Regions from separate parts of the Homo sapiens genome. Here region 1 is linked to region 2. Evidence: promoter capture Hi-C in 16 types of primary human blood cells and fetal thymus (Javierre and others, 2016). All regions are on one chromosome and are shown on one strand. The core of a region is centred on a gene start or on the middle of the fragment in contact, and the rest is flanking DNA. Distances in the headings are between cores, read along the strand shown.

Region 1 (4,656 bases), core at 968-3,467, 920 kb before region 2:
GAAAAAGTTGACTGACCATTTTTGCCTGTGTTCTCATTGCTTTTATAGAGAAGCCAGTATTTGGAGATGTTTACCCTGCTGTTTTGGAAGTTGTCCACTTTACTTGATATTGGGACATATCAAGAGACCACTATATGGTCTTGAGTGTAAACTACAGGTATATTCCTTCCTGCCATCATCGTGTAGCAATAACGCTATTTCCTCCTGATGATTGGATTCATTTACCCCAACTAACATGGTGACTCTTCCTTGCCTGCTGGTCTCCTAGCACAAGGACCTTGAACCGGGAAACCTCAGCAAGTTAAAGTTTAAAGGATCTATTATTGTGTCTCTTGATGAAAAGGTTCCTCTCTTGGGAATCAGGACTTCTAATTCACAAAGTTGCGGGGATGAGAAGTCCAAACTCCCCACTTGGGTCACTGGGAGTGAGAGTATGTGGTTATATTAATTTCCTATCACTGCTATGACACTACGAACTTAGTGGTTTCAAACAACACAAATTTATTTTCTTACAGTTCTGGAAGCCTAAAATCAAGATATCAACTGGACTGTTTTTCCTGAAGTCTTCAAGAAAAAGTCTGTTTCCTTGCCTTTTTCAATTTCTAGAGGCTACCTACATTTCTTGGCTCATGGCCCCTTACTCATATCACCCCATCCTCCTGCTTAAGTCATTGCATCTACTAGGCAAATCTGCCTCTCTCTTGTAAGAATCTTTATGATTATATTGGGCCTATTGGATAGTCCAGGATAATCTCTGTATCTTGAGATCATTAACTTAGTCATATCCACAAAGTCTCTTTTATCTTGAAGGTAAAATATTCATAGAATCCAGGATTAGGATCTGAACATATTTGGGGGCCATTATTCAGCCTACTACACAGTAGGAATTCTATTTATATCCTTTCATTCCCAAACATGCATGTTATGTATATATGAGACACAGCACCATAAAATGAGTGTTGATTTAGAGTATATACTGTACCCTGGTGGACAAGGTCATTCCATTTTCACAGGCTATTATCTTCAAGCTTTTGCTTCAGTTTCACCTTCAAAAGGGTTTTTCATCATTCCATCAGACCCGCATTTTCTCGGTTATATAGTATGTGATAGGACTAGTGGATCTCATGGTTATGTACCTGCTGATACACCTCCTTTGCTGTAAAGTGCATCCCTAAATCAAAGGCAATATTACACAGGATACATGTTGATGGATCAAATACCTGTAAACCTGTGAGTAGTAGAGCTGGCCAACAACTTATAGGCAAGGAAGTCAAACTCATACATGCAGATGGGCAGTTTCTAGTCAAGGAGAATCACTGCCCATTCTAGGATGGAAGGAATCCAACATAAATCAATTTGCTGCCCAAGTAGCTGTTTGGTATCCTTGAGGGTTGGTGCTGTATCAGGAACTTGGTGTTTAACACTGGGGAGTGGCTATTTTGTTGTTGTTGTTGTTGTTGTTTTGTTTTGTTTGAGACGGAGTTTCACTGGTTGCCCAGGCTGGAGTGCCGTGGCGCCATCTCGGCTCACTGCAACCTCTGCCTCCTGGGTTCAAGGGATTCTCCTGCCTCAGCCTCGTGAGTAGCTGGGATTACAGGCATGCGCCACCACGGCCAGCTAATTTTGTATTTTTAGTAGAGACGGGGTTTCTCCATGTTGGTCAGGCTGGTCTCAAACTCCAGACCTCAGGTGATCCGCCCACCTCAGCCTCCCAAAGTGCTGGGATTACAGACAGGAGCCACCGCGCCCAGCCTGGGGAGTGGCTATTGGATAAGTGGAGGCTATCTATTGGCTTCTTGCTCACTTGCATTCCTGCAAGATGACTACTTTGTCATAAGCCCCCTGTGCCATTCCTGGGGGCGGAGGGAGGGGGCGGTGGAGCCGATGGTTGTAGCTGCTGAAGTTTACTGGCTAAATCTGTCTACTTGGTTATTTAATGCTGCTTACATGTTGGATTGTCTCTGGCAGATAAAGATTGTGTTATACAATACAAAAAGCCCTCCTTATGTGCCATATCTGATATATTTCTCCTCTGCTTCTCCAGACTTCTTGTCCCTGATATACCAGTCTTATTCCAGACCCCTGATCAACTAGCCAACTTATTTGCCATGAAAATATGTTCTTAGTTCAAGACACTTTCTTTCCACACACAGTTGATGACCAGGAATACTGCCCCACATTATGCCTTTTGGGAGGGTTCTCCTTACTGCTGTCTTTTAAGGCCAGTCCTGTGTGGGGCTGTAGGGCAGTAGCAGTCCATTTTTGTTTTGAACCTATATTCCAAGAAACCTCAGTGAATTCAGCTCAGGCTTTTTTGTCCTCCATAAGCTAGACATGAGAGCCTCCCAAGTGGCCATAATTGTGAGCTGAGGAAGGGACATTGGTAAAGAATCAGATATGACATGGGAGCCTGACCACCTGCCTTTGCCCAGCTCATGATGGGCCTCTCTGGCTACATGGTCACTTGATGTCCATAATCAGTTCTTACCAAGGCACATTAGCATGGATAGAGTTGTTTTTGGGATTTTGCACTGCAGATGGCCCAGCCTTGCCACAGAATGCCAGGAGTCGACCTTGTGATTCTCCCATTGGAGCTTGCCTTCAACTTTCATGGCTTCTTATCACATTTACTCTTGTCCCATAGAATATCCTGAATTGGTCCATGCAACAGGGCTAAATACACCATACCTGCTAGAGAACTTTTACATGCTATGGATCCCACTGAAAACTGGCAGATTTCTATCTCACCCAGTTTACGAGTCAGAACAGTACTGCCAACTTCTGAATTCCCACAGAAGCCTACACAGCTTGGTGTGCTTCCCTGGTGGCAGAATAATTTTGGTGAAATGAGTGGGTGAGATGCAATAATTTGTCCTTTACTGTGAAGGGGATATCTTGGCATTCAAGCAGCCTACTGGGCCCTAAAAGTTTCACTGAGGTAACAGCTTGCTGGGTCTTAAGGATTATTTCCCATCCTCCAGTGTACAGTATGCTAGCTGCTTATTATTCACCTTATCCAGCTAGCATGATGTCATCAATGTGGTAGGTCATTGTGACATTATGTGGGATGTTTAGATGGTCTAGATCTCTTCGGATTATGACGCAGTGTGGAAGAGTTAACATAACCCTAAGCCAATACTATAAATGGGTACTGCTGTCCTATATAAACACAAACTTAATTCTTGTCCAGCACTCTCAGGACCCAGTTCCATACACATGCTCATGGTTCCTGTTGGTACATGTTGGTTAGATCCTGCATCTCTTTGGTCATATAAGCCCATTTGGAATTGAAAGTAGACACACAGAATGAGGGCAAAACACCTGCAGAACAGCTGCTTCATCATGGTGGGCTTTTTTCATATTAGGTTTTGTTACCTTTGAGTTTTTAAATTATGTGTAAAGCTTCGATTAAAAAAATAAAAATTATTAAAAAGAAACTGAGACAGTCTATCCACCTATCTCTATTTACCCAGTGCTGTTGTTGTGTTACATAAAATTCAATTTTAGCTTCATGTTCATGCAATATTTTCGTTTACCCTTGATTCAACCTTGACCTTTAAAAAGCCAAAAAGACAAATACCTATTTTGACACTGGTTCTGATCTCTCTGAAATTCTGTGTGACCAATGGTCAAGTAACCTTGCAGGTTATTTATCATGTCTAATCTGAAAAAAGTCATTGTATTTACTAATATTTTAATATTCACCTTATAGGTAAGCATTCTAAACATGATTGTGGCAAGAAATTCTTATATGCTTTACATGTTGAAATTCTGTGTCAAATGAAGTACATATGTATATTATTGCAAGAGTGAATTTCTTCAGTAATGATTGTGACAGCTAGTAAATTTAAGTAGAAAGTAATTATAAACTTCCAAATACTTTTTTTAAATGGGCAAAATATATGAAACAATGGCCCTGAAGGCATTGGACATAGGCAGTGAAGGATAGTAATCCATGAGAGATGGAATGCAAACAAGGTGAGCAATACAATTGCTCCAACTTGCTGCCTGAAGAAAGGCTTTGGCATGGGGAGAGGGAACCCAGAAGACTCTGTGAGGTGAGGAGATATAAGTGGGAGTCCTGAGAGCCCAAGGCAACTAGAGTTCACAGGGTAGAATACTAGAGAGGACAGAGTGACACAGAGAGAACTCCAGAGATCTGCTGACCATTCTCCTGAAGTATTAAGCTAAATAATGATTAGTACATGCATGAGAGGAAATAACCAAAGGCTTGGCAAAGAACCATCAGAAAGGATTAAAGAAAACAATACTCAAAGCTCACACAGGATGGTGAATGATTCCTGATCCCGTCAGCAAGAGTGGAAAAGATCCTAATTCACAAGGCACCAGTTAGAGTACTAAGAAAGGTCTTGCTTCAATAGCGGGAAAAATTAACCCTCGACTAAATGCTCTAGAATAACCTAACAAAGCTTAAAAGAGAGACCCAAAAACATTCAAACTGTGTCCAAATAACTTAATCATACTCCAGAAGAAAGTTCAAACTGTTTTAGGGATATGAAAATAATCTACAAAGTAAAATTCACAATGGCTGGCATCCAATCAAAAATTACCAGGCATGCAACAGAAAAATACAACCCATAATAAGAAAAATAAAACATTCTGGGCTAGGTGCAGTGGCTCACACCTGTAATCCCA
Region 2 (4,878 bases), core at 2,182-4,681:
GAGCTCACAGTCCTAGACAGGAGAAGAAAACACAAAAAATCAAACACCCAGTATGTAATCTGGGTAATGTGTTATACAAAACAGTGCAGGAAAGGCAGTAGCTAAGTGTCTAAGCAATGAAACACACAGCCATGGTACATACATCATGTACACTGCACACACCATTAGGCTACATGGGGTCCTGACCAGTCTGTGCTGTGCCTTGTGAAATTCTCTGAGTATCTATCTGTCTCTATGTCTTCAGCCTGAAGCTATAACATTGATATTTTGCTTTTGGTGATTCTCAAATGCTCAGCTATGATAGGGCTTACAATCACAGAGTCTTTACAAAGTTCAAGCCCCCATCTGATTTGAAGGTAACTGTTCTGGACATAGCCTAGCAAGTTCTTTATCTTGAGGGGTCCAGCATTACAAAACTTCCCAGTAGAAACCATGTTTAAATAAGTGTCAGCTGAGCATGGTGGCTCATGCCTGTACTCCTAGTAGTTTGGGAGGCCAAGGCGGGAGGATCACTTGAGGCCAGAGTTTGAGACCAGCCCGAGCAACATAGCAAGACCCCATCTCTCCAAAAAAAAAATGTTTTAATCAACCAGGCATGGTGGTGCACGCCTGTTGTCTTAGCTGCTCAGGAGGCTGAGGCAGGAGAATCACTTGAGCTCAAGAGTTCAAGGCTGCAGTGAGCCATGATTGCACCGGTACACTCTAGCCTGGGTGATAGAGCAAGACTCTGTTTCAAAAAAAAAAAAGAAGTCTCAAATTAGATTTTTTTATGGTAAGAGAAATCTGAAATAGTCAATCACACTTCAGAAGAAGCCTGCATTAAGATATGATAGCAACAATTCTGTTTGTTTGTTTTAAGGAACAGAAAGCGGAAGGACTAGAGACAAACACTGAGGCTTCCTAAGATTAGTTATTAGACAAAAAGACAAGGACAAAAATAATTGTAATTTCCTATTTGTGCTTGAATTTTAGAAGTTAAAGAAACTTTCACCAACTTTGAGCCACTCAACCCTTTATAGTAGTCAGCTATCGACACAATAATGCTGTGTAACAGTAAATCACAAAAATCTCAGTGGCATCAACAAGACACATTTATTTCTTGCTAACACATCTGTGAGGTCAACGGGAGTGTCTGCTCCATGTGTCACATCCTGGGACACACGGATGTCACTCAAACCACTCCAGGAGCAGTGGCTACACAGGGTATGCTCTTTTCATGGAGCAGGTGAACACACAAAACATCAAGACCAACCAGGCAAGTACATACATCAGATCCTCTGCTCACATCACATCCATCAGCATCCCCTTGGCTAAAGCCAGTCATATGGCCAAGCCCATTGTCAAGAATTAGAAAAATACACATCACCAAAAAGTGTGGGCACATGACGCTACTGGAAAGGAGGGAAGAATGGGTACTAATAATTCAATCTACCACAGCTTTTAAACCATCCTGAAAGGTAGGCATTATTGGCTCCATTTTTTCTTGACAGTTAAGTAAATGGGGCCCTAAGAGTTTAAGTCATTCATCCAAGGGAGGACAGGTAGTATGCTGCTCCAGCAGAATTAGAATTCAAAACTTCTACCTTCTGGCCCTCTGTGGTCTCTACAGGTATGTAGCCAGCTTACTAATACATAACTAACCCACATTGTTCATAATCACATCCCAGGCGGGCATGGTGGCTCACGCCTGTAATCCCAACACTTTGGGAGGCCAAGGAAGGAGGATCACTTGAGCCCAGGAGTTTAAGACTAGCCTGGGCAAGATAGCAAAACCCTATCTCTACAAAAAATATAAAAAATTAGCCTGGTGCAGTGGTGAGTGCCTGTAGTCTCAGCTACTGGAGACTGGGGCCGAGGTGGGAGGATGGCTTGAGCTGGGGAGGCTGAGGCTACAGTGAGCCATGATCACTCACTCTAGCCTGAGTGACACAATGAGACCCTGTCTCAAAAATAATAATAATAATAATCACATCCCTTAATTATGCAGATACCAATTCCCTCCAACAGAGACCAGACCCAACACTGCCTCATTTGTTAGCACCATCACAGTGTTTAACATTTGTTTGGGACTTCTTCAATGTTTTTACAAGCTTTTTTTTTACTATTACTACACTAATAAATTATTTACGGTGGGAAATCTAAATCAGAAAGCTCTGGCTTCTTGAAAACAAACTTTATTAAAAACGTCTTCCCAGTCCAACATGTAGCCTCATAGGGCACACACAATTTCTTTGCCTGAGCCTTAAAGATTACACCGAGTCAGTGGACTAGATGATATTGATGGCTGCAGAGAAAGAAGAATGGAAGAATGAAGTTTGAAGCTAATGCTTGAGTATGGGATTTTTACTCTGCTGCTGCTGTCCTGTGCAAACTAATTGCCAAATAGACCAGGCTGTAAAGCATCATAACTAGAGGTGATGAAGGGCAAGAAGCCACCCTCATGCCAGCAGCCTCCCGTATCCATTCACTTATTCACACAAATAGTTGTTGAAGGCCTGCACTGGGCCTGGCAGGGTGCAGGGGCTGAAATGCCTCCGGAACAAGACAGACCAGCTCTCATGGAGTTCCCACTGCAGACAGGGGTAGATTGTTGTAACAACAGCAAAAAGTAAAAGCAAACAGGGTAGTTTCAGATTGTACTGTAGCATTGGCCCTGGGTACATCATTTAACCCGTCTCTTAGAGGGTTCGGGTAGGATAGGGGCGCTGTTCTTTTTCTCCACTCCCAACCTGCGGGAGCCAGATACCTCCCAGGGCTTCCTCTCCTTCCCCTCCTTTGCTGCCCCAGGGGCAGGTCTGAAGGAGGACTGGTTAGTGACAGCTAAGGGGCCCGGAGGGCTGGGAGGCTGTCCCTCCTCCCCGCTCCAACCCCCGCGCGCTAGGGCGGGGTTGGGGCAGTGAGCGAGGTCAGGAGGCTGCGCCCCCTACTCCCCGCCCGGCGGGCGCGGTGCCGGCCCCAGCTCTGCGGACGGCCCGGGAGGCTGATCTGGCTGCGGAGGTCGATCCTGATAGCTCGGGGGCAGGAGGGGGGCTGGCCCTGCTCCTCACGCCCACCCCGCAGGGACCCAGACGCCCCTCCGGCCCCCTCCCTGCACCCCGTCAGCCCGGGAGCTGCAGGAGACCGGGGCGCATCTTTCCAAGCGCCGGGCCTCGCTCTGGGACAACGGTGTCCTGGGGGCGGGGAGGGCGCGCGGAGGTGCCAGGGGCGGCGGGGTACCCGGCCCGGCAGCACCGCTTCAAGTTTCCACCGGCGCGGTTGTGCAACCGGGAGGGGAGCGTGAGCCGCAGGCGCCTCGGAAAACAAGCCGAGCCCATAAACAAAGCCACGTGGCCTCCGGGCCGGGGGGCCGGGCTAAGAGCGGGCGGCTCTTCCGGCAACAAAGAGCTGCGGCCGGCTGCGGGGATAAATACTGCGGCAGCTACTGCCGCGCAGCACTCCCGGAGCCTGCAACGCTTGAGATCCTCTCCGCGCCCGCCACCCCGCAGGGTGCCCCGCGCCGTTCCCGCCGCCCCGCCGCCCCCGTCGCGGGCCCCTGCACCCCGAGCATCCGCCCCGGGTGGCACGTCCCCGAGCCCACCAGGCCGGCCCCGTCTCCCCATCCGTCTAGTCCGCTCGCGGTGCCATGCCATTCCTCGGGCAGGACTGGCGGTCCCCCGGGCAGAACTGGGTGAAGACGGCCGACGGCTGGAAGCGCTTCCTGGATGAGAAGAGCGGCAGTTTCGTGAGCGACCTCAGCAGGTGAGGGGACCCGCTACCAACTTCCAGCCCCCGCGAAACTGACCCGGGCTGGTCTGGGGGGCGCAGGGACGGCGAATGAGGGGCAGGCAGGGCTGGAGCGGGCTGAGGAGGGAGACCCTGACCCGGAGGGTGGGACTACGGGGCCCGATTTCTGCAGAGGTCTTCGGACCACCGGAGACAGGGAATTCGGTTTCTCTTATTGTTCAAGGTCAGTGTCTCCAAGTGGACACGACTCCTTACAGAACACCTGGTCCCTCTGAGAGTCTGATGACATTCGCGGATCGTGTCCCCAAACGTTCGCTCAAACTTAATCACACAGCTTTAGTGGTCCCTGCTTTAAGGACACCGGAGTCGCGCACTTTGCCCATGTGGGGGCGCGGGCGGGTGGGCTGAGCCCCTTCACCGCGGGGTGGCCCGGCTCCCAGCGCCCAAGCGCTGTGGACGCGACAGGTGACGGGATCCGACGAAGGTCCCGCCTGGAGCGCTTCCAGGCCCTGCCCAGGCACGGGCAACCACGAAGTGGCCGGGAGGATGAGTAACCAGGAAGGGACGGCCAGATGGTCCCTGGGGCAGCCGCTTACTGGGCGGACTTGCGAGCGGTGGAGGCTTGGGGCTGCAGAGGTGCAAAGGAGGGAAGGGGGCAGGGGATGAATCCCACAAGAGCTCTGCTTCTGGGAGGACAGGGCTCTTGCACCTGTTTCCTCGGTGGCCCTCTCGGTCGGTCTGCTTTGTATAGAGTGCACTCCGTTTCCAGGGGTGCCTGTCAGCTGCGAAAAGCCTGCCTGGCCCCGGTGAGCCTCTGGATTCGAGGCCTCACCTGAGCTCTGTGGTCTGGCGGGAAACCTGAGGTCCGCTGCGCTCCCTGCTCAGCTTGGCTAACGATGCCAGCGCCGGCTAGTACGCAAGGTAGCCTGGAATTTCTCAGCCCCTGACCTCGACAGTTGACTTTCAGAGACTCTCAGCATTTAGCCCGGTGAGCGGGGGCGATGAAAGTGATTCCAGAATGGACTGGTGCAGCCAGAGTCACCCTTGGGAGCCTTTTCCTGCCACCTTTGGTTAAAACCATGGGCCCCTGCACCCTTAAATTGACTTCAATGGAGAATTCTGTTTCTGGGCCAGGTTCCCGCTTACTGAGATTTA

Evidence for each region. The method cuts DNA at HindIII sites, captures the fragments that hold promoters and counts their contacts. A CHiCAGO score of 5 or more calls a contact.
Region 1: a contact is called between a fragment that was not itself captured here and the fragment with the promoter of FBXO32 in region 2, in 1 of 17 cell types (total CD8 T cells). The highest score is 5.1, in total CD8 T cells.

What each region holds. Positions count from the first base shown.
Region 1 is chr8:124,463,051-124,467,706 of GRCh38, reverse strand. It overlaps RNF139-DT (RNF139 divergent transcript), which reads left to right. Exons shown (of 2, transcript NR_108047.1): 2 at 49-4,656. Among named protein-coding and RNA genes, the nearest start is that of RNF139-DT, 9.2 kb to the left of the region's middle. The HindIII fragment of the contact is 2,374 bases long and covers 1,031-3,404 here.
Region 2 is chr8:123,539,759-123,544,636 of GRCh38, reverse strand. It overlaps FBXO32 (F-box protein 32), which reads left to right and starts at 3,431. Exons shown (of 9, transcript NM_058229.4): 1 at 3,431-3,738. The coding sequence starts at 3,623. RefSeq lists silencers at 2,905-3,194, 3,285-3,394, 3,445-3,534. The HindIII fragment of the contact is 4,426 bases long and covers 2,093-4,878 here.